Linked DNA regions of Homo sapiens: all the other regions are linked to region 1. The links are contacts of gene promoters, found by promoter capture Hi-C in blood cells and fetal thymus (Javierre and others, 2016). All regions are on one chromosome and are shown on one strand. Each heading gives the region's core, a stretch centred on a gene start or on the middle of the fragment in contact. The rest is flanking DNA. Distances are from core to core; before and after follow the strand shown.

The links. Contacts are between HindIII fragments. The CHiCAGO score rates a contact against its expected background, and 5 or more counts as called.
Region 2: a fragment that was not itself captured here is called in contact with the fragment with the promoter of DAPK2 in region 1 in 1 of 17 cell types (erythroblasts); the score reaches 5.1 in erythroblasts.
Region 3: a contact is called between a fragment that was not itself captured here and the fragment with the promoter of DAPK2 in region 1, in 2 of 17 cell types (endothelial precursors and erythroblasts). The highest score is 5.6, in endothelial precursors.
Region 4: a fragment that was not itself captured here is called in contact with the fragment with the promoter of DAPK2 in region 1 in 2 of 17 cell types (endothelial precursors and M2 macrophages); the score reaches 7.1 in endothelial precursors.
Region 5: a fragment that was not itself captured here is called in contact with the fragment with the promoter of DAPK2 in region 1 in 5 of 17 cell types (endothelial precursors, M1 macrophages, M0 macrophages and 2 more); the score reaches 6.5 in endothelial precursors.
Region 6: a contact is called between a fragment that was not itself captured here and the fragment with the promoter of DAPK2 in region 1, in 8 of 17 cell types (erythroblasts, megakaryocytes, endothelial precursors and 5 more). The highest score is 7.6, in erythroblasts.
Region 7: a contact is called between a fragment that was not itself captured here and the fragment with the promoter of DAPK2 in region 1, in 9 of 17 cell types (endothelial precursors, megakaryocytes, M1 macrophages and 6 more). The highest score is 9.8, in endothelial precursors.

Annotation. Positions count from the first base shown.
Region 1 is chr15:64,044,807-64,048,010 of GRCh38, forward strand. DAPK2 (death associated protein kinase 2) reads right to left here and starts at 1,679. Exons shown (of 12, transcript NM_014326.5): 1 at 1,492-1,679. RefSeq lists enhancers at 1-12, 63-112 and silencers at 1,313-1,532, 1,563-1,622, 1,643-1,852. The HindIII fragment of the contact is 10,777 bases long and covers 1-3,204 here.
Region 2 is chr15:63,580,986-63,584,189 of GRCh38, forward strand. The region is part of intron 11 of USP3 (ubiquitin specific peptidase 3); the gene reads left to right. Among named protein-coding and RNA genes, the nearest start is that of FBXL22, 15 kb to the right of the region's middle. The HindIII fragment of the contact is 902 bases long and covers 1,096-1,997 here.
Region 3 is chr15:63,599,390-63,602,593 of GRCh38, forward strand. FBXL22 (F-box and leucine rich repeat protein 22) reads left to right here. Exons shown (of 2, transcript NM_001367807.1): 2 at 1,308-1,852. The coding sequence ends at 1,650. USP3-AS1 (USP3 antisense RNA 1) reads right to left here and starts at 1,438. Exons shown (of 3, transcript NR_034080.1): 1 at 1,200-1,438. RefSeq lists enhancers at 555-1,272, 1,535-2,352 and silencers at 1,340-1,629, 2,050-2,179. The HindIII fragment of the contact is 1,824 bases long and covers 635-2,458 here.
Region 4 is chr15:63,631,764-63,634,967 of GRCh38, forward strand. It overlaps HERC1 (HECT and RLD domain containing E3 ubiquitin protein ligase family member 1), which reads right to left. Exons shown (of 78, transcript NM_003922.4): 66 at 2,970-3,125; 67 at 2,085-2,207; 68 at 946-1,048. Among named protein-coding and RNA genes, the nearest start is that of USP3-AS1, 33 kb to the left of the region's middle. The HindIII fragment of the contact is 338 bases long and covers 1,523-1,860 here.
Region 5 is chr15:63,664,530-63,667,733 of GRCh38, forward strand. It overlaps HERC1 (HECT and RLD domain containing E3 ubiquitin protein ligase family member 1), which reads right to left. Exons shown (of 78, transcript NM_003922.4): 41 at 1,827-1,943; 42 at 1,390-1,621; 43 at 1-65. Among named protein-coding and RNA genes, the nearest start is that of USP3-AS1, 65 kb to the left of the region's middle. RefSeq lists a silencer at 1,459-1,629. The HindIII fragment of the contact is 2,101 bases long and covers 455-2,555 here.
Region 6 is chr15:63,688,910-63,692,113 of GRCh38, forward strand. HERC1 (HECT and RLD domain containing E3 ubiquitin protein ligase family member 1) reads right to left here. Exons shown (of 78, transcript NM_003922.4): 32 at 1,632-1,738; 33 at 680-790. Among named protein-coding and RNA genes, the nearest start is that of USP3-AS1, 90 kb to the left of the region's middle. The HindIII fragment of the contact is 2,487 bases long and covers 427-2,913 here.
Region 7 is chr15:63,709,246-63,712,449 of GRCh38, forward strand. The region is part of intron 24 of HERC1 (HECT and RLD domain containing E3 ubiquitin protein ligase family member 1); the gene reads right to left. Among named protein-coding and RNA genes, the nearest start is that of USP3-AS1, 110 kb to the left of the region's middle. The HindIII fragment of the contact is 1,654 bases long and covers 670-2,323 here.

The sequences.
Region 1 (3,204 bases), core at 429-2,928:
TGAGTGAAACGGGACCACAGCAAGAGGGCAGGCAATGGTTGGGCAAAACACACACGACCGTCTCATTACACACACCCCCATTAGGAATCATCACACTCAGGCTCTGGAGAGGCTGCCAACAGAAGGGATGGGGCTCCGGCATTACAGAGCTCCTCTCTACATTCCAGGCTTTGACCCATCACAGTCTCCAATGAGGAAGCTGGGGCCCACAGAAGGTCAGCCACCTGCCTGAGTTGACACAAGAAAAACTTGGTCTCTCTGGCAAAGATCCAGCTCCCTTGGGAAGCCTGCTTGTTCACCCCACAGCTAACAAATCGGGAGGCCTCAAGGAGGTGGGCAGGGTCAGTGCGGGTCTCATTCCTGCCAGCCAGGAACTTACCCCAGAGGAGCAGACCTCCAGCCACATCCACACACCCCTGACCCCTCTGCCCAAGTCTCCTCTGAAGGTGCTGAATCATCAGTGGTGCCACTTGAGGGTGCTCAAAAAACATCTTGGGAGATGAGCGGTTTGGGGAAGGACAGGGCTGTGAAGTTAGCTGTGAAGAGGCCAAGGCACCACGGCCTCTTAGGTCAACAGGACTCTCCCAGGAATATCTTCCACAGAGGCAGTTGGGAGTCGCAGTGTCAGAAACCAGAGTGGCTGCCCTCCACAGGATTCCAGGATACAAGATGTCAGGCGCTGTCCCTGCACCTGCCCGCTTGCCCCCGAGGCAGCCAGCTATGGTGCCCTCTCCTCCAGTGTGCACCACTGCCTTACCATTACCTGCACGGCCTCAACGAGGCTCACCTCTCTGGACCTTGTTTTCTCTTTTGTAAAGTAAGAATACCAATTTCCACCGTGCAGAGTTACGGTGAGGGTTAGCCAGACCTATGCAAGCCTTGGGACCTCCAAAATGCCTAGCCCAGAGTCCTAGTCAACTGTTGGCAACGCCCTTCCAAGCCGTTCCACCCCAACCTGCAGCACACCTGCTGGCCGCCCCCACGCCCATCCTAGCTCTACCCCAGGCCGGGGCGCCTGACGGCGGGGACCCCAGCTTCATTCAGCCCCAGAGGAAGCTCAGACATCTGAGCACCCTCCTCGCATCACATCCTTGTGCCAGGCGGGAGCAAGAGGTGAGAGAGTCAGCCCAAGCTGAGAAGACTTGGCCGGGAGCCGGGCGTGCTCTGCCCGTTCCAGGGGGCCTAACTCGATGGACGTCTGTCTCCCATCTCCCTGCTGGGTGCTTGGCTCTGCCCGCCGCCTCTACCCTGTCTCCCAGGTCAAAGTGCCAGGCTCCGGAGGGCGCCCCAGGGCAGCGGCGGGCAGCTCCCGCGCTCGGGTGCCGGCCACAATGCCCCGGGCCACGGCGTCAGGCATTGGGGCGGCGGGCCCGGGATCTGCGAGCGAGTGCCCCGGATCTCTTCGCCCCGCCAGCCCCAGACCCGGGCGCTGCTGCCGTCAGGCCGCGCGCCCCGTCCCGCCCATCGAGCCCGCAGACGGGTGCTACTCACGGCGGGAGGCTGAGCTGCCGCGGTCGCGGCCGCGGCAGGCGCGGCGGGAGCGGCGGGCGCGGCGGGCGCGGCGGGCGCGGCGGGCGCGGCGGGAACGGGGGACGCGGCGGGGTGCGCTGGGCTCGGCCCTGCAGTCCTCTCCTCCCAGAGCGCCCGGCACCCGCCCGCCGAGCAGCCTAGGAGCCGAGGGGGCGGAGCGGCCAGCCCCGTCCCAGGCGCCGGCTGGAGGCGCGCCCGGCTGCCCGGGACGGGGCTCGGGGCGCCCCCTGCTGGAGCCCCCTCCGGACAGTCCCGGGGCGAGAGCCCAGCTTCCCGGCCGGGTAGGGGACACCTCAGGGCTCCCAGACTCCCGGGAGAGCGGGGAGAGTCGGTAGCAAGACCCTCTGCGCGTCCCTACCGGCTCTACCGCGCACATGCTGCGTGGCCTTGGGCAAGTCGGCTACCCTCCCCCGGCCTTATCTGGAAATCGATTTGAATGAGCTTATACGTATGACATGGTCTGGCACAATCCTCAGAAAATGGTACTTGTGTGCTCCTCTCCCCACCATACACACCGTGAGCGAGGAAGCCCCACTGAGGAATAGGCCGTCTCCTCCCTCCCAGCCAGAGCGCTCCCTACACCGCAGACTCTCCTGGAAACCTCAAGCCCACAGCGTACAGCAAGGTGGGGGCTGCGATGAGAAGGGCCGCTCTGCTCCTCACTGCCCCCGACCCAGCCTGAGAGCGGCCTGCCCTCGTTTGCCCTTTGTCCTGGCACGGTTGCTGAGTGAAGCCCCCCTCTCACCATCACGCCTTCTCTAATAGAGGACTTGGGAATGGGTTCCTCTCTCTGCCCTCTGCCAAAAAATCCCTGAGGAAAAAAGGAATGAGAGTGAGGGGGTGAAGGGAGGAAGGAAGGGAAAACAGAACTTAAGCCAAGTTCATTTGTCTTATTTCAAAACAAGAGGCTGTTTAGAGGAAGCAAATGAGGACCCCTCCAACCCCTGGAATTTCCATCCCTAAGTCACCCATGGGGCTCCTCAAAAGGGCCTTAGATTCAGAGTCCTACCACCAGGTTCAAAGCCCTGCCCTGCCACTCCGCATGTGTGTTCTTGGGCATGGCTCTTTCTTCATCAGTAAAGTGGGAGAAACGCACCTTCCGGTAGCTCCTAATGAAGCTATGGTGGGGCTGAGATGAGATGGAGTGTGTAAGATGCACCTAGAGGACCTCTACCAGTGTGAGCACACACACACCCTTCAGCCTTTTGGACATTGGGACAAATACAGATGGACCCCACCCCCCAGCTGAGCAGTGCCTCCGGGTCCAGGACATCCTCGGCAAAGAGTTCCTTGTTTATAAACTTCACAATAATTCAGAACAGTGCAGCCAGCGAGCCTCCTCTCCTAAGAGCAGCATGATATATAGAGTAATATCCAAGACTAGAGGTGGTTTCTGATGTCAACGGACCTAAGGGAATGACACCCACTGGTGAAGTTTCACCAACATGAGAAGTCCCCCACCAAACTATCCCTAAACACCTCTTCCTCCATTTCCATTTACCTATCACTGGTGACAAACCATTACCAGCCTTGGTGGCACAGGACAACAGTTTCACTATGTTCATGCATTCTGAGGGACAGAAGTTCAGACAGCACAGTGTGTATGGCTTATTTCTGCTCTGCAGTGTCTGGGATTTCAACTGGGAACACCTGAATAGCTGGGGGCTGAAATCA
Region 2 (3,204 bases), core at 297-2,796, 460 kb before region 1:
TAATAGAGATGGGGTTCACCATGTTGGCCAGGCTGGTCTCAGACTCCTGACCTCGAGTGATCTGCCTGCCTCGGCCTCCCAAAATGCTGGGATGACAGGCGTGAGCCACCGTGCCTGGCTGCTAATAGACTCTTTACAGGCCATATAATTCACTTCCACATGTGAGCTCTGAGGTGAAATTCACACTCATGCTGCTGCAAAATATTAAACTGAGGTACATTTCAGGGTCATTCAGGCTTTTCAAATAGTTAAAATAGCAGTTGCCAAATCTGTGAATGTTAAGGGTATGTTGTATCTAGATAGTCTTCCCCTTAAAGAAATATATTTCCATGTGTTTATATGTATGTTTGTGTTGGTTTTTGTGTGTGTGTGTGTGTGTGTGTGTGTGTGTGTGTGTGTGTGTGTGTGTGTGTGTTTAGATGGAGTCTTGCTCTGTTGCCCAGGCTAGAGTGCAGCGGTGCAATCTTGGCTCACTGCAACCTCTGCCTCCGGGTTCAAGCGATTCTTCTGCCTAAGCCTCCTGAGTAGCTGGGACTACAGGTGTGCAGCCACCACACCCGGCTAATTTTTTTTTTTTTTTTTTTTTTGGATTTTTGGTATAGACAGGGTTTCACCATATTGGTCTGGTCTCAAACTCCTGACCTCATGATCCACCTGCCTCGGCCTCCCAAAGTGCTGGGATTACAGGTGTGAGCCACTGTGCCCGGCCCATATGTTTGTTTTTTAAAAGACAGGGTCTCACTCTGTTGCCCAGGCTAGAGTGCAGTGGTGGGATCATGGCTCACTGCAGCTTCAACCTCTTAGTCTGAGGTGATCCTCCCACCTCAGTCTCCTGGGACTACAGGCACATGCTGCAATGCTTGTGTTTTTTGTATTTTTTGTAGACACAGGGTTTCACCCTTTTGCCCAGGCTGGTCTTGAATTCCTAGGCTCAAATGATCCTCCACCTCAGCCTCCCAAAGTGCTGGGATTACAGGCGTGAGCCACTATGCCTGGCCTGTATGTTTTAATAATGGTTTTCTTTATACATATGTTTATTGAAGAATTTGGAGAAAACTCAAAAAAGTAAAAAGAGGAACATATACATCCCTTATAAGCTTATCATTCAGACATACTGTAGTTCAGAAATTTTATGTTTAGAAACTGTGATTTAAAAGTTGATTTTTAGGGCCGGGTATGGTGGCTCATGTCTGTGATCCCAGCACTCTGGGAGGCTAAGGATTACAAATAGGCATTAGGTTTCTGGGGATGCTCAGGTAACTTTTTAAAACCCATGAAGAGATGACAGTGGTAGTGGAGATTGTTCTCTACTAATCCAACTAGGGTTTACTATAATAGCACTTTCTTAGGGGAACTCCCCAGGAGGCCCTACTGGGCACACCAGTCTCCTTACCTTCTGCTTTGGCTGTGATCCTGAGGATGTCCCCACCTCTTGGCAGGCAGTACCAAAAGGGAGAACAGAGAGGGGTTCTCAAGGCAGTTAGGGCCACCATTTTTTAAACTGAGGGTTTGAAAAACCAGGCTCAGCTTATATTGCCTCTTTATGAATCATCTTATGGGCCTGACCTGATCATGTCTATTCCTTTTTGGTATCTCATGTGGTCTTAGAAGAAAAGGACTAACTTTCCATTATCTTGTGCATAAATCAGCAGGGAGACCACTACATGGTCACCTTGTAAGTTTAAGCAACTCAAAAAGGCAGGGAGGAAGAAAATGTTGGAAAGCAAGAAGATGCTGGAAGATGCTGGGAGAAGGCATAAAGAGCCTCCTTTGCATTGGAGAGAAGATGAGGACAGGAAGGAAGGCTGCGAGAGGTGCTTTGGTTTCAGAAAAGGAGCAGGGTGATGGCAGGGGCTTTGCCTGGCAGGTAGAAGGAACAAGAGAGCAGTCTAGTATTTATGTGCATTTCACATAAATGCAGATGAGTTACTGTGAAATGTTGATAGATTCTTTCAGTAATCTCAGTGCTCCTCAGGGTATCAAATTCCTGAAATTAAAGCTTCTAAACAGTTACTAAAGGAGATTTAGAATACCACCTGCCAACTCAGTAGTAGCCCTCTGAATGACCCCATGCTTCCACACACGGGGAGACCCCTTCAGAAAGTGGGTCTGTACAGGTTAAATATAGGGGGGGGAAAAAGGCTTCTCTGCTGTTGAGGCATTTCTGCTTCTCAGTGTTGTGTGGCTAGGTAGCACAGGCAACAATGTCTTGCTGGTGAATCATAAACCATCTGGCTAATGGGATGGAGAGGCTGGAGTGACAGTATTTCAGAGTCATACTCTCCCTGCCTTCTTATTTGCCTGTGAAAGTTTCAAGCAGACATTGTCAATTAAAAAAAATGAGCTAGGCACAGTGTGGCTCATGCCTGTAATCTCAGCTACTGGGGAGGATTGCTTGAGCCCAGGAGTTTGAGGCTTCAGTGAGCTATTTTATACTCCAGCCTGCATGACAGAGGAAGAAGACCTTGTCTCTTAAAACAATTTTTTAAAAAATTGTGGTAAAATATACATAGAATAAAATGTAACATTTTAAGTGTCTTAAGTGTGTAATTCAGTGGCATTAAGCACACCCAAAATATTATACAACCATTACTACTTGTAAAAATTTTTGTCATCCTAAACAGAAACTCTGTACCCATTAAACAGTAACTCATTACTTTTCCTCTCTTGTTCCCAGTAACTCTTATTGTATCCTCTATGAATTTGTCTATTCTAGGCACCTCATATAAGTGGAATCATACTATATTTATCCTTTTGTGATTGGCTTAACTTAGTGTATATTCAGGGGTCATCCATGTTGTAAGCATGTCTCAGAATTTACTTCCTTTTTGAGGCTTAATATTCTCTGGTATGTATAGACTACATTCTGTTTATCCATTCATCTGTTGACGACACTTGGGTTTTTCCCACCTTTTGGCTATTATAAATAATGCTGCTATGAACACTGGTGTAGAAGTATCTGAGTTCCTGCTTCCAGTTCTTTTGGGTATATACCTAAGAGTGGAATCGCTGAATCATAATTCTGTTTAACTTTCGGAAGTACTGCCAAACTTTTCCACAGTGGCTGTACCATTTTACATTCCCACCAGCAAGGTACAACGGTTTTGTTTTTTTTTTTTTTTTTTTTTTTGAGATGGAGTCTCGCTCTGTCGCGCAGGCTGGAGTGCAGTGGCATGATCTCAGCTCGCTGCAACCTCCACCTCC
Region 3 (3,204 bases), core at 297-2,796, 450 kb before region 1:
TGAAGGTAACAATTCCTCCCACTTGACAAATGAGGAAGTGACGCCCAGCAAGGTTCAGACATCTGTCCTGGGTCTGACAGCAAATAAGTCACCAGCCAGTCACCTGAGCTGCCGGAGCCAGTTTCTTCATGTACAAAACTGGGGGTGCAGAGGTTGACGGGGTGACTAATGAGGGCACACAAACCTGAAGGAGGCCCGGGCTCGGTGTGACACCTGGCTGCACCCAACATATTTAAGTTCCTTACTTCCCTCCCCTGGCACAAAGGAGCCGAGCTGGCACAGCCAGGGGCAGTCACGGAGCTGCGGGGGAGGCTGGCAGGGAAAGGGAAACGCTTCCCCAGCCCAGACTCTAGCTCCCTCTGGCTGCGGGGAGCCAAGGCCCCGGCCCATTAGTCGGTCCTTCTGGACTGGAAGCAGGCTGGTCCCGTTTGTTTCCAGGGAAAGCGGGTTAGGACTGCCTGTGGAAGGCCCCGTTGCAGGCTCCTCACAACCCCAGTGGTAGACATTATTCCCCCCACGCAGAGGAAATGAAGGCTCCGTGAGTGACTGACACGGCGATAAACCAAGTCTAACTTGGCTCAAGATCTTTTCTTTGCTGGGAGGGGCTGGTGAGGCTGCAGCAGAGGGTCCCCCAAGCTTTCTGGCCAAGCGACCTGGGTGGGTGTCCGTGACTGTACCTGCTCAGGGCTTGCCTCTAGCTGCCTCCGAACCCTACCCTTTTCCAGGCTGGTGGCCCAGGGGATGCAGGAACAGCTCTAGTCTACTAAGCTGAACCCGGACTCAATGCTAACGCGTGCCCCCACCGCCTTGAGGGTTGGGATGGGCCTGTCACTAGGCCACCTCCAAGGAAACAAATCCCTCTTCCCACTCACGTCCCGCCGGGACATTCAGGGGCCTCAGCTTGAAGCTAGACTGGAGCAATCGCCAAGCACCGCTCCCCTGCAAGGCAGCACATCCAGAGCGAAACAAAGAGTCAAGGGTTGTGGCTCCTGGAACCGGCATTCCCTCTGTCCACAGCCGCCCCAGGACTCTGCTGGGCCGGGGTCGGGGCTTCCCACTAGGGGCTCCCAAGGCTACGAGCCAAGAACCCACGCAGATGAAGGTACGGTGGGGTGCAGGGGCAGAAAGAGGAGGGAAAATGGGCCGGCCAGAAAGCCGACTTGGAACCCTGCAGTGTCATCGCAGCCAAGTGTCTTCACCTCGCAGGGCCCGAGTCCTCCTCGGTAAATGAGTCCACTCGGTCCCATGGGGCGGTTGGGTAGCTTTAACAAGCCAGTGAGCCCCGGGTCACCGCACTCTCCTCACAGGTGCCCCAACCTGGCGTCCGTCACGCTCTCGGGCTGCGGCCACGTTACCGACGACTGCCTGGCGCGCCTGCTGCGCTGCTGCCCACGCCTGCGCGCACTGCGCCTGGAGAACTGCGCGCGCGTCACCAACCGCACGTTGGCTGCCGTGGCGGCGGACGGGCGCGCGCTGCAGACATTGCACGTGGACTTCTGCCGCAACGTGAGCGCGGCCGGCCTGCGCCGCCTGCGCGCCGCGTGCCCGCGCCTGGCCCTGCGGGCAGAGCACAGCGCCGCCATGCTGCCCGACCAGCCCCCGCGCCCGCGCGCGCCCGCCGCGGCCCTCGGCAAGCTGCTGCAGCGCTAGACGCCGCCCCGCCGCTGCCCCCGGGGAAGGAGCGCAGCCCCAGACCGTCCTGGCTTCGAACCCAGCTCTTCCACCTTCAGACCACCACCGCATATTCTGAGCCTCATTTTCCCCGTCTGCACAGTGGGGATAAGAAAGCCTACCTCACGTTACGATTTTATACATAGGATAAACGCAAGATTAAATGGATATTTGGAAAACACTCGGCTGGTTCTCACTCAACACCACCGCCTTTCCCCTCTTGCTTCCGCCCCAGGCTTTCTGCTGTGCGCTCCCCACGGAGGCGGGAGGCGCCTGCACCGTCCTCGGGGACTCCGATCGCCGTTGGACCGAAATCACCTCGGTGGGGAGGACCTGACCACTCGGAGTTCGCCGACTTGCGCTCGGGGGTGACGGGGGCCAGGGCTGCCGCGCGCAGGGGTCTGGGGAGCCTCCGGGCGGAGCGACCCAGCGAGACCCCGCCGGCTCCCGGAGTGTCCTGGGGACCGCCACCTCCAGGAGCCCCGGTGGTGATCTCGGTGAAGCAGGAGGAGGGGAAGCAGGGGCGCACGGGCAGAAGGAGCCACCGAGCCGCTCCTCCTTGCGGTTTTGCCCGCACGCGCGTCTGCCCGCCCACCTTTCCTGGGGCGGATGCGTTCCCGCAGTGACCGCACTCGCGATTGTAGAAAATTCGCTCCCAATTGTTGAATGCTTACATAAACTGCATAGTTACCCATATTTTCTACTGTTCTCATAAGGGAAAAAGAAATGATTTGGAAGAAAAAAAAAGCCTCAAACTAAACAAAAACAAAACCAGCAGCCCTGGCTAAGCTTTTGATAATGGAACCATTATAAGCTGACAAGCTAGATTTTTCACCTGTTGGATTTGCTGGACATGAGCACAAGCCTAGGCTTCCAATTTGAATTTCAGGGCTGTAGTCACTGATGTGTCACATTTAGTGAAGGCTCTCGGCCCCCCGGCAGCCGCCTGGTCCTGGGTCACTGGGGAGAATTCTGGGTGGGTGGAAGAGGCGAGGAGCACTGTGATGGGCGCTGTTCACACTCCGGCTCCACCCAGCGCCAGCTGCGACAAAGCCCTTTACCCCTCCCAGGCCAGGTGTTTCTTCTGTGTGAAAGAGGAGCTTGATCCCTACTCACAGGTTCCTTAATTCATTGCTCAAATAGGGAAACGGCAAGGAAAAAGACAAATTCTGTTCTCATGAAGCTTACCTTCTAGTGGGGGAAGAGACAACAGGTAACTGGTATATAAGAGGGTAGAAGGGCCAGGTGCGGTGGCTCAATGCCTGTAATCCCAGCACTTTAGGAGGCCAAGATGGGCGATTCACGAGGTCAGGAGATCGAGACCATCCTGGCTAACAAGGTGAAACCCCCGTCTGTACTAAAAAAAAATACAAAAAATTAGCCGGGCGTGGTGGCGGGCACCTGTAGTCCCAGCTACTCAGGAGGCTGAGGCAGGAGAATGGCGTGAACCCGGGAGGCGGAGCTTGCAGTGAGCCAAGATCGTGCCACTGCACTCCAGCCTGGGCGACAGAGAGACTCTTGTCTCAAAAAAAA
Region 4 (3,204 bases), core at 442-2,941, 410 kb before region 1:
CTCTTGACTTTAGGTGATCCACCCGCCTCGGCCTCCCAAAATGCTGGGATTACAGGTGTGAGCCACGGCGCCCGGCCCTCCCAAGTCTTATTCCTGTGCCCACCTGCCCTTTACATCACATGCCCCAGAGCTCTATTTTCTTCTTTTCTCATTCTATACTCTCTCTCTCTGGGTTTTTTAGATGATACGAATAAGGATTTAACTACTATCATTATGCAGCTAATGTCCTAAACCTACATCTTCATAATCAATCCTTCTGGAGTTCCAGATCTAAATTCTCAATAGCCTAGTGGACATTTCCACACATTTATTTAGGGCAAATGGGTCCATTCAACATAACTAAAACTAAATTCCTTACCCTTCCCCACAAACCAGCTCATGTCCTCAGTCAGAGGCATCGATGTTCTCCCACAACTAGAAACTTCAGTCATGGTTTACTTCCTCTTCCTCACACCTGTCTCACATATCCCTAAACAACTACCCTTGCCAAGAATCTCAGTCCTACTGTGAATGCCTGGGTTACGAACCTACTCAAGATTTGAACCCAGAGTGCCTATGAATTCCTCCAGTTCCTAAGATCTGCAGCCCCAGTCCCTAGAAGGGATGAAGAATGAGGCAGGACACAGAGGAGCTCTGATGGTCAAGGCAGTATTTGTGGCAGCATGTCAAGGGCAGTAGAAAAGAAGAGGGGACGGCCCTTGGCAGGGACTCTTCTAGCAAGAGTGCTGGCTCTGGCATAAGGGGTCTTAATGGGGAGGGGAGTTTGTCTTTATAATAAAGCACATGAAAGAGAAGTGGAAAATTATCTATACTGAAAGGAGGTCATAGTGACTACTCACCACCTAGAACAAAAAAAGGACTCAATTTAGAGCACATTCTGTAACACTGGAAGGCCAATGTTTATAATGATGTGTACCCAAGCAAATAAGCTGAAAAATGTCTTACCTTGACCAAAGGTATACACATGACCATCTTTGGTCAAAGCAACAGAAAACTGAGTTCCACAAGCAACCTTTTTTATTCCAATTCCACAAAGGACGTCAATTTTCTACAAAATAAAAGTGTAAGGCACACAACTTTAAGAAGAAAAAAAATCACTCTTGAATTTGCCTAATGGCATGTATCAAGAACTACCTTCCAACAAAAATACTAATTGTCACTTACCTGTTCGACCCAAATCCAAACCTGAAATGTTATTTTCTCCTACTGTTCTGCAAACTAACTGAATTTCAGGGAGGGAGTGTGCAGGGGCAGAGGCAGTTTGACTAAAGTCCCCAGGGCCCTGTGTGAAGCAGAAGCATTCCTCTGGGTAATAGAGACCAGGGAGAATTCCAGGACCTTTTAAAGAACACTAGAAGACCATGTTAGTTTAACATTTTAGCTTTTATGGGCGACAATAACTGCTTTATATGTTCCCCAGAGTCAGTTTTCCTGCCTCTCTGCATACGTAGCTTAATATTCACTAGTCTAGCTATCAGGATGTCACAGACTATAAATGGTGGTGAATCTGAATATAAGCTGAAGCTTTGTAAATCACACTGCTTGTGAAATACGTCAGGAAAACCCACATAAAACAATCACATAGAAGGACTTCTGTAGAGTCAAGAAATCTTCTATAGTATGAATAACAGCTTCTAATTTCTTTCTTCATGGACTCAGATTTCCTTTGTATTGTTTTCTTAAAAGGAGACGTGTACCTGTGTTAATTCAGTGGTAATAATAAGCAGAAATGGCAGCTGCATGCAGAGGGTTACAAAGGATTACTCATAGTTCCTTCCATGACATCCTGGAGATATGTTTCTAACTATTTCTTCCCTACATCAGAGGTCCTACAGTGTGAAACCCATTTTTGGAGACAGAAGCTTATCCTTGCAGAATTTTAAATCCAGTTTAGCTGGATTAATAGCTTATTTAAAATCAAGACCTAGCATGTGGGCATTCAAGAATGCACAACAGAAGCTTCTAAACTTCATTATGAACTACCAAAAGTACTAAAGGTAAATTATTTCCAACTAATAATAACTACTGACATAGATGAAAACTATTTATGTTGTCTGAAAACCTAGACTCAAGGCAGTACTGACCTGAGGTGAAGATTTTGCAGTGGAATTTCCTAAGCCTAGTTTTCCATAGTCTCCATCTCCAAAAGCCCACACCATGGAACCATCTGCTGACACTGCCAAAGTGTGGTTTAATCCACAGGCCACCTAAAGAAATAACAGCATTCCGTAAGGCAAATCACAAGACCTAAAACACACTCCCCCGTTTCTGGGACCCTTTTTCTCTACTTCAGTGAAAAACTTGGCTATGTTTCCAAATATCTACAATGGTTTCAGAGCATACTACAAATGTTAACCAAAGTAAGTCAACAAGAAATAATTCTTAATGTCCATATATAACTTTTTTCTTCAAAGTGAAATCCTTCAAATGTCTGTGGCTAAACCATAATCAGTATGAAAGATAGAGGAAAAGTATACATGACCCAAAAATATTCATTCATATCAAAAAGTATCTAAGGAATGATATAGAAAAAGCCAAAAATATTTCCTTGTTAAAGGACACTCTTGATGTATACAAGACAGAGATAATTACTACTTAGGAGCAGTAGCTACCAGTGATGTTGCAATTCAGCCATACAACTCAAGGATACCAGACAGGAGCTACTAGTATCTGTATTTTTTAAGGGTTTAATAGCAAGTGGTATTAGTATGTTATGGAGGGGGCTTTAAAAATATTCACGTCCTGAAATAAGGGTTACATTTGTTGGTTTGTCACATAAACAAACTTAAATTGACTTAAAATATGAATTTCACATTGGGAAACAGTTAAAATTATCAATTAGACCATAGCAAAATGTACATGAGGTTAGGTACAACTGGTGATCCTGATCTTCCTGAGGGTGTCTAAGCGAACACAGAAGAAATGAGAAACAATGATCAGCTAGAATATCTTATTGATTTATTCCATGCCTGTCCAATCTGATATCCCTCCAGTGCAGTCACTCTCTCTGGAAGTTTTTTGTTAGAGGTATTTCCAAGACCCAGACGACCATAGTCACCATTCCCAAAGGTGAACAGTTTGCCATCTGAAGTGACCACTGCTGAGTGCTTGAAGCCACAAGACATCTAAGACAGAACCAAGGAGAAAGAAAATTTTTAAGAAGGGAAACTAAGAAAAAAGTAAATCTGCCATTTTTGGTATTAA
Region 5 (3,204 bases), core at 255-2,754, 380 kb before region 1:
AGCGACCTCTAGCTGATGGTCCACTTCCAGAAGCTGCATTCTCTGTATGATCCAAATTATCAGGGCTACAAGTGCAAGTGAGAAAGCAACACAAAGTTTTTGAAACCATTATGGAAAGAAAGCATAGGTGTAAGCTTACTTGTAGTACTACTTTATTCTCATTGAGAATAAAATATGTTTATGATAAAATTTGAAACACATCTTTATCCCTTGAACAGTTCAATTATGCATATAACATTTCCTGTGACCTGAGCAATAACTTTGTCTGATTTTGAATTCTTCCAACAACAAAATGATGTTTAATGAAGCTCAAATTTAAATGAGATCAAATATGACCTTAACTAAATCCTAAAAGATTAAATACTTAAAATTTGAAATGATTGAGAATTCTTGCCTAGGAAAAACAGGTATTTTGAAATACGTTATGAAAATATTCACTGAGCTTGTTGGAAAAAGCTTGCATGCCATCTAGGACACAAGCCTTGGTTACTATATGGCTCCATAGTTAAAATGAAAAATAAAGATTTAAAGTCATAAGAAGTGATGAAGGAAAAAAGATTTTAGGGAGAATTTGTAAGATATTCTATACATCTCATTTTAGGATAGGCATTATCACAGCAATCTTTTTACACTTAAAGGGGCATCTTCTACTAGATATTAAAAACTATAGAAGAGATGAAAATATAAATATTACACAGAGAAGACTTAAAAGTTCAATTCTAGGCCAGGAACGGTGGCTCATGCCTGTAATCCCAGCACTTTGGAAGACCAAGGTGGGTGGATCACGAAGTCTGGAGTTCGAGACCGTCCTGGCCAACATGGTGAAACCCTGTCTCTACTAAAAATACAAAAAATGAGCCGGGCATGGTGGCACATGCCTATAGTCCCAGCTACTTGGGAGGCTGAGGCAGGGAACTGCTTGAACCGGGGAGGCGGAGGTTGCTGCAGTGAGCCGATATCGCGCCACTGCACTCCAGCCTGGCGACAGAGCGAGACTCCGTCTCAGAAAAAAAAAAGTTCAATTCTATCAAATACATTAAATCAATGTCCAATATTAAAATGAATACTCGATTTTATATCACTTGTACGAGATAAAATTATTTTATTAGCATGTTTACTTCAAAATAAACTTGTTTCCTTTTTCAGTACAATTTTACACAAAAATTATGAAATTTCTTCTGGCATGAAAACACCTACTCAAATCAAAACTTGTCATGTCACTTTTACCCTTCACAGAAATATAAACTTGTAACTAAAATGCCCATCTTTTCATATAACTATATTTATCAACTTTACATACAATTAGAAGCATTTATGACGGGATATATAATAAATGGGGCTTTGAAATTTATAACACATGGAACAAAAGTACAGAAACTGGAATTTCACCTTTCACTAAAACCTTCCTCCATTTCAGCAGCATCAGCTGATGGTATGTCTCCAGGTGACTGCAAATAACAGGGATCATTTGACTTCCCGCCACTGCCTAGAACGGCTGCTCCAGGCCTAGAGTCTGCTGTGCTGCCCGACTGGGGCTCCTCTTCATCCTCATGCCCAGGGTGCTCTATCATCCACATGGCAAGGACAGTGATATTCTGGGCATCAGCCTCTCCCCTAGCACCTATACAGGGGAAAAACAGTCTGATGCTGACTTTGGGCAAAGAATTAGGTCTTTATGTTATAAGAGTGTTTGCTATGATGCTCTTGTAACAAAATATAGTGTTAAAAATCTTACCAAGTTTCATAGCCTCTTAAAAGTTATGTTGTCTTTAATAAGCTAGGACTTCTCATATCTGTATACACTGATATATAAAAACTTATCCTACCTGTAGCTTCCATGGCTTTGGCAATCTGCCGAAGAGAGAACCCCATTTCCAGCAAGGGAACTGCAATTGCTGGAGGAGGAGGAGAAGTTGAAAGTCTACTGCTTGGGTCTGACAAGGCTGAGACAAAAGGAAGAGAAATAAGAACCTAAATATCACTAGATACCGTGAGTAAAAAGTGTCTTCATAGTCCTCAATTTCCTAGTATTGTCCAAGTTTAATGAAATTTTCCTCTACTCAGAATATGTGGCTGGGCACTGTGGCTCACACCTGTAATCCCAGTTTTACTAACATCCATTTATGTTATACTTTGTAAAGATTTGTGTAGAGGTACTATAAGAGTATGTAAATAACCCACTCCTCATCCAAGTTCCATATTTGTAAATCTGTATACTCAATAAAATTTATTTGTAATCTCAAAATCAATACTCATGTACTTTTGTAGTCATTTGTGACATATGCAGAGGGACTAAAAAGTTTAGTCCCTCAACATATGTGTTCACAGCTGAGGTCCAACAAGGTGATGCTCTGCCTTCATGTTTCAGCTCTCATGTGAAAAACAAGTGTCCTTTTCATAGTCTATTTAGTGCTACATTCTTCGCATTTTTATGCTTTTGGTCGGTGATTTCCCTGATTAAAATGGCCCCAAGCATAGTGCTAAAGTGCTGTCTAGTGTTTCTAAGCACAAGGATGCTGTAATGTGCCTTATGAAGAAAATACATATGTTAGATAAGCTTCATTCATGATGAGCTATAGTGTTGGTGGCCATAAGCTCAATGTTAGTGAATAAACAGTATGTATTAAATGTGGTATCTTTAAACAGAAAGATGCACAAAACAAGATTATACAGCATACTGATCAGATGATGGAAATGTAACTAGAAGTTCACAGGAACTTAACCCTGTATTTCTCCTAGGAGCAATGGTTCAGTATTTGCTAATTCAGTGTTCATAATAACCTTTTAGAACATAACTATTGCTAATAATGAGAATCAACTATTATTCCATGTATTCAGTAAGTTAGAGGAAAGATTGAGCATGTGAAATAAACACGGAAGATGAGATTAAAAAAAAACAAATCAAATGTCTACTGATGAAAACTATAGTGTCTGAATAGAAAAATACACTGGACATTAACAGAACATTAGACACTGCAGAAGAAAAGATGAATGAATTAGAAGATATAGCTATAAAAACTATCCAAAACAAATAATAATTTATTATGGAGCTTATGTGTAAAAGTGAAATGTATGAAAACAAAAGTATAAATGATGAGAAAAGGAAAATAAAATCATCCTGTTGTAAAATTATTACTTTAACTACATATGAAGTGGTACAATATCACCTTAAGGTAGACTCTGATAATTAAAGACATATACTAT
Region 6 (3,204 bases), core at 420-2,919, 360 kb before region 1:
CACCCAGGCTAGCATTTAAGTTTGGAAGGCACTGCAGAGTGATCTTTTAAAACCATAAATCAAAGCATGTTGGTCCCCTGCTTTAGGTATGGATGAGACTGCTGGAAAAGCCAAGGATCAAACTCTGTGGAACACCAACATTTTGAGATGAAGGCAAGGTAAAAGTGGCACCAAAAAAGAGTTGCTTTCAAAGGGAATCAGGATTGGCAGAGAATATACGGAGATCCGGGAGAAAGCGTTTTGAAAATAACAAAAGGCTAGAGTTTCCAGAGGTAAAGTAAGAAGTGGAAAAAAAAGGATACACTATATTTAGCAACAAACACTTATCTTTGTCATTTAATTTCGTACTTTGATACAAGATAAATGGTGGGGTTGAAGAGATAATGAGAAGAAAGTGGCTGAAACATGCAGATTACTCTTCTAAGAAGCTTAGTACTACAGGACAAGAGAGAAGACAGAGAAGACTTCACAGATAAAAATGTGATTTAGGAGAGAGGAAATGAGTTAAGCATGGTTATAAGCTGAGGGGAGGGAATCAGTGGAAAGGGAGACAGAATGCCAAGAGAGGAAATGGAATAAATGATAGAGCAAGGTGCCTCAGAGGAACAGGCATTCAGAGACAAGTGACAGAATATTCACTTATGCTGTTAAGAAATACCTTTTAGGAAAAACCAATTACCTGTAGTTTTATTTCTTGTTCTTTTTCCTTTATCTGAATAGCATGTTTGGCCTGAGCAATGGGTGTCTCCCACATACAATCAGAGAGAAGGGAAAATAAGCGCTCAACAATCTGTTTTATTGAAGAAAAAAGGATAAAATTTGTAAAAAGTAACTTTAAGTATTTTTAGAAAAGCTGTATCATGTTAACTGTAATATTAACTCGCATGCGAAGTTTGATTATACCAGTGTTCAACAGCTACTTTTAGTGGTTATAAGTTAAATATCAGTTTTTAGAAATATTAACCCATTAGAAGCCAGGCACGGTGGCTCATGCCTGTAATCCCAGCACTTTGGGAGGCTGAGGCGGGTGGATTGCCTGAGGTTGGGAGTTTGAGACCAGCCTGGCCAACATGGTGAAACCCCATCTCTACTAAAAATACAAAAATTAGCCAGGCATGGTAGCATGTGCCTATAGTCCCAGCTACTTGGAGGCTAAGGCAGGAGAATCACTTGAACCCAGGAGGCGGAGGCTGCAGTGAGCTGAGATCGCGCCACTGCACTCACTCCAGGCTGGGCGACAGAGCGAGACTCCATCTCAAAAAAAAAAAAAAAAAAAGAAATATTAACCTATTAGAAAGTGGGTCCCATTTTGCCTTACTATTTAGACCTCTGATTAGGACACTCCCACATGTTTCTTCCTATAGCGGTCCAAACCTAGTAAGAAATTCCAGATTTTTCTTTCCTTCTGACCTTGCAGAGTATTCTCTATCCCTCTACTTCTCACACCCCATAACTTAATTTTTTTTGCCCTCTCCTTGGGGGTGAAATAATAAAGAAAGCAGTCCTAAAAGTAAACGTTATGCTATTGAATAAAAGACACATTTACAACTGAAGAGACTGTTAAGTACAGATTTGGGTGAATCATTTTGCAAATATGGAAAACATCTTCTAATAATTTTAAAAATAAAAACCTGGGCCATTTGATCATCTTCTACACCAGATTCACAAGCTGGCAGCACAGCTTCAAGGACATGAAGTGCAAGGAGCCTTGTTCTTAAGTTACCAACCAGAGGGATACCTGGAGGGGAAAAGACCTTTTCTTATTATCAATGTGACTTAAATTCAAAGTTAAAATGAACTTCTGGGAAAAAAATTCCTGAGGCTGCTAAACATTTATGGGTGGAACAAACTTGATTTCAAACTATTATCGCAAGAATTCTGGATCCATCCTGTACCCATGAATGCGTATGAATACATTCATGCTTATGCCTCAGTTTTTATGTATACATAATGGGAAGAGCATTGTAAAAAAGTATCTGTGCCAGATACTATGCTATGCTACACATTTCACACACATACATTCTATTAATCCTCACAAACTGAATTACAGCCCCATTTTACTGTTGAGAAAAATGAGGCTCAGAGAAGTTATGTAACTTGACCAAAGCCACACAAGCTCATAGAGGTAGAGTTTTAAACAGGTCTGTTAATCTCCAAAGCTCATGCTTATTATTCCCTCTCATTGCCTCTCTCCGTCCATGCACTGACTGTCTCACAGGGATTGTTAGGGTTAACCGGGAGTAAACAGACTATACTTTTCTAAAGTAAGCCAACAGCCGGGCATGGTGACCCATGCCTGTAATCCCAGCACTTTGGGAGGCTGAGGCGGGCAGATCACTTAAGGCCAGGAGTTCAAGACCAGCCTGGCCAACATGGTGAAACCCTGCCTTTACTAAAAATACAAAAATTAGCTGGGAGTGGTGGTGCACGCCTGTGATCCCAGCTACTTGGGAGGCTGAGACGGGAGGATCACTTGAGCCTGGAAGTGAGAGGTTGCAGTGAGTTGAGATCACACCACTGCACTCCAGCCTGGGCGACACAGAGAGCCTCTGTCTCAAAATAATAAAAAATAAATAAATAAATGAAGTAATCCAAGGTAGAAAATAGGATACTGATACATAAATATGTAATTAAAAAATACATATAACTGTAATAAGATCAGTTGAAAATAAATGAATATCTGATTTTTCTTTATCCTCTTGAAACTTAATATAAGCCTTACCTTATTAAAGGAAAAAAAAAGGAGCAGTTGTAAGTTATACTAATTAAGAAAAAAAGTATATTGAGCGTGTAAACATATAAAATACCATGTGCCGTAGAGGATTACATTATGTTTTGGCATACTTAGATTAGAGATTATGAAAAAAAGTTCTGGAAATGGATGGCAGTGATTGTTGTATAATACTGTGAATAAGCTTAATGTCACTAAATTGTATATTTAAATGATTAAAATGGCAAATTTCACGTTACGTGCATTTTACCACAATTTTAGCAAAAGAGAACAGGAAAGGACTGACTGTAATCTATGTAAGCAGACATTTTAGGGTAAGGACCAGGGATTAAGCTTATTCTATAGAACTGTGATAAATATCAAACAATCAGAAGTCACAATCAAGGCAACAGAAATCACATTATGATAAGAGAGACTGTACAAATTCAGATCTGCATCCTGATAATCCAAGAAGCAAGGTCGGAATCTGTGCT
Region 7 (3,204 bases), core at 247-2,746, 340 kb before region 1:
GCAATCCTCCCACCTCAGCCTCCCAAAGTGCTGGGGTTACAGGCATGAGCCACTGCGCCTGGCCCAATCTTTTTTAAAAATGGGTTTTTTTTTAGTCTTTTTAAAAATTTTCTAAAAACTAAGTGAACAACCAGAAAACCTAACAATCTTAACAATTAAATCTAAGCTCAATCCTCCTCCATTGATCTGTTGTCCCCATTTATAATTTTCCAGATATTTTAAATTGTATTACCAAATTTATTCTTCACAACACAGTTGAGGCAAGTACAACAGGCATTATTCTCCACTTCAAAGATAAAGAAACTGGAGCTCAGGAAGGTTAAATGTCTTGTACAGGTCAAAGTCCATGGTGAGTTTTAACCCTATTCTGAGTCAGATTTCATAGCTGATTTCCCAAAAGTACACCACTTTAATTTTACCCATCCTCCTTTCTATATTTTCATTTCAGTTGAAAGGAGTTATTAATCATTTACAATATGTAAAGCACTGTGTAGGAGATATCAGGGGCATTTAGGAAAAATAAAAACCAAAAAATCCTAGATTTCTAGTGGGTTTACTGGGAAGACATACTAATAATACATAAATAAGTCCAACATAAGACAAACGGTAAATTATCAGACATCCTAACAAACTGTCATGGGACAACTGGGAGAGTAAGGTAGCTGGGAAAGCTTTCTGGAAGAGGTAACATTTTAGACAGTCCTTCAGGGAAAGACAGGATATCAGCAAGGAAGCCTAGGAGAACTTTTAAGGCAAATAGTGCTTTAGCAAAGGCTCAAGAGGTATGCTTGGGGTCTGGCAGATGAACTACTATGGCAAAAATGCAGACCACTGCAGAAGAATACTGGTTCCAAAAGCAGGCAGGTGACACTTCCCAGAATCTTTGATTTCCGAGTAGGCAGTGCAGTCACTCCTAGATTTGATCAGTCTGTAATTTGGACTTGCGTGGACTAGCCATCTCTCTGCAGTAAGACAAGATGTTTGAGTAGGAAAGTAGCACAATCAGCAGGTAGGTGTTTTGTTGTTGTTATGTGTGTTTCCAAGAGTTCTAATTTGGAAAGAAGTGTCTAAGGAGCAAAACTGGAAAAAGTAGGGGGACCAGTTTGAAAATACCTACTCCAGAAACAGGTAATAGGGCACTTCAATTAAAGAAAGGAAAAAACCAAATGCATGTGGAAATTTTGCCAAAATAGATTAGACAGTTATTTATAAATTTAAAAATAATTTCCTGACTACCTACCACGTGCTATTATAGGTGCTTGGGATACAGAAGTGAATAAAACAGCAAAAAATTCCTGTCCTTAAAGAGCTTATATTCTAATGTAGACTAAGACTAACTGATCAATGAATAACTAAATTATACAGTAAGTGATCGGTGCCCCAGAAAAAACAAAGCAAGGCAAGGGGGACAGGAAGTGACTATTTGGAAAAGAAGGAAAATTGACATTTTAAATAGGGTGGTCAGCACAGGCTTCATGGAAAAAGTAACATCAGAATGAAGACTTGAAGAAAGAGAGGGAGTTAGCCATGCAGGCAATAGCATTCCAGTCCTAAGAAACAGCCAGTTAAGGCCCTAAAGGGAACTTGTGTTGCAGATTCACGCAACAGCTAAGAGTCCAGTGTGACAGAAGGAGAATCACTGAGGAGAGTAACAGAAGAGATCAGAGAGGTAGTGGGACCAGACCATGAAGAGCCTATAGACCCCTGTAAGGACTTAGACTTCTAGTCTGAGAAAAGGGAAGTCATTGCAGGACTCTGAGCAGAGAAACGACATGATCTATGTTTCAAAATTATTGCAGGGTTGGGAGCTGGGTGCAGTGGCTCACACCTGTAATCCCAACACTTTGGGAGGCTGAAGCAGGAGGATCACTTGAGGCCAGGAGTTTAAGATCAGCCTGGGCAACAGAGCAAGACATAAAAATTTAAAAAATTAGCCAGAAATGGTGGCACATGCCTGTAATCTCAGCTACTCGGGAGGCTGAGGCAGGAGGATTGCTTGAGCTCAGGAGTTCGAGGCTGCACTGAGCAGCCTGAACTCCAGCCTGAGTGACAGGGTAATATCCTGTCTCAAAAAAAAGGGAAATTATCACAGAGTTAGGAGACTAGATAATGAGTCAGATTGATCAGATTTAAAAAATTAACTGACAGAGAAATAAATGAGCACAGGAATCTCACTAGACTATAAGACTGGGAGTATGAAGTGGAAGCACAGAGATATTAATGCAGATGAAGGAGAAAAGGAGGAAGTATAAACAAAATGTCATGATACAATGAAACGTAAAGACACTGTTCAACTTTCCTTAGATGAGGAATCCTTTATGGAAGCTTTTTTAAAACAATAACTTATTCTTTATGTAGCACTTTATACTTTTTCAAAAATATTTTCCTATCCCTTCTCTCAGTTCATACAACAGAGGAATTTCAGAATTACACATGGAGCTTATAGATAAGTCCATCTCAAACGCTAGCATTTCTCTATGAGCTGTCACATGATATGACCAAGATCCCACCGCTCTTTAACAGTAGAATCGAGACCAGAAGCCAAGTCTGACACATCACCATATACACAACAGGCACTACCATCTTCGTATCACACAGTAAGACACTAAAGCCCAGGGAGGTCATAGCACATATAGAATCACACACAAGGCAGAGGAACAGCCAAATTGAAAACCTAGCTACCAATTAACTCCAAGTCCAAAGTTCCTCAAGTAGAAGCAATCTTCTAGATAGTTTTCGCTTTATATTTTACCAGTGACACTGTAGCATACCTTTACCTCACCTCCTTTTTATATAAATTAGCATCTTATTTATCTTTACCCTAAATGCCTGCAGTCCAGGTTCTGAGGCTTTTTTGATAGTTAACAGAGCTGTTAAAAGATTTTGAGTAGAGGAGGTATAAACAGATTTGTACTTTAGATATGTTAGTCTTGTGAAATGTGGAAGGTGGGCACAAGGCAAGAGGTGAGGCAACCAGTTTGAAGGCTTCTGCACACGTCCACTCAAAAGAGAAAGTTTAAAACAGAGCAGTGGCAGAAGGAAAGGGAGAGGAGAGGACATTGGAGACACACTAACGGTAAAATTTTTAAGACTTAACTGGATTGGGAAGGGGTGGAGAATAAAGGGATCAGGAGATAAGAAAAAAGAGTCAAGGATGATCCCAAGTTTCTTGCTTGGATAGTTAATGTACCACCTACTAAAATA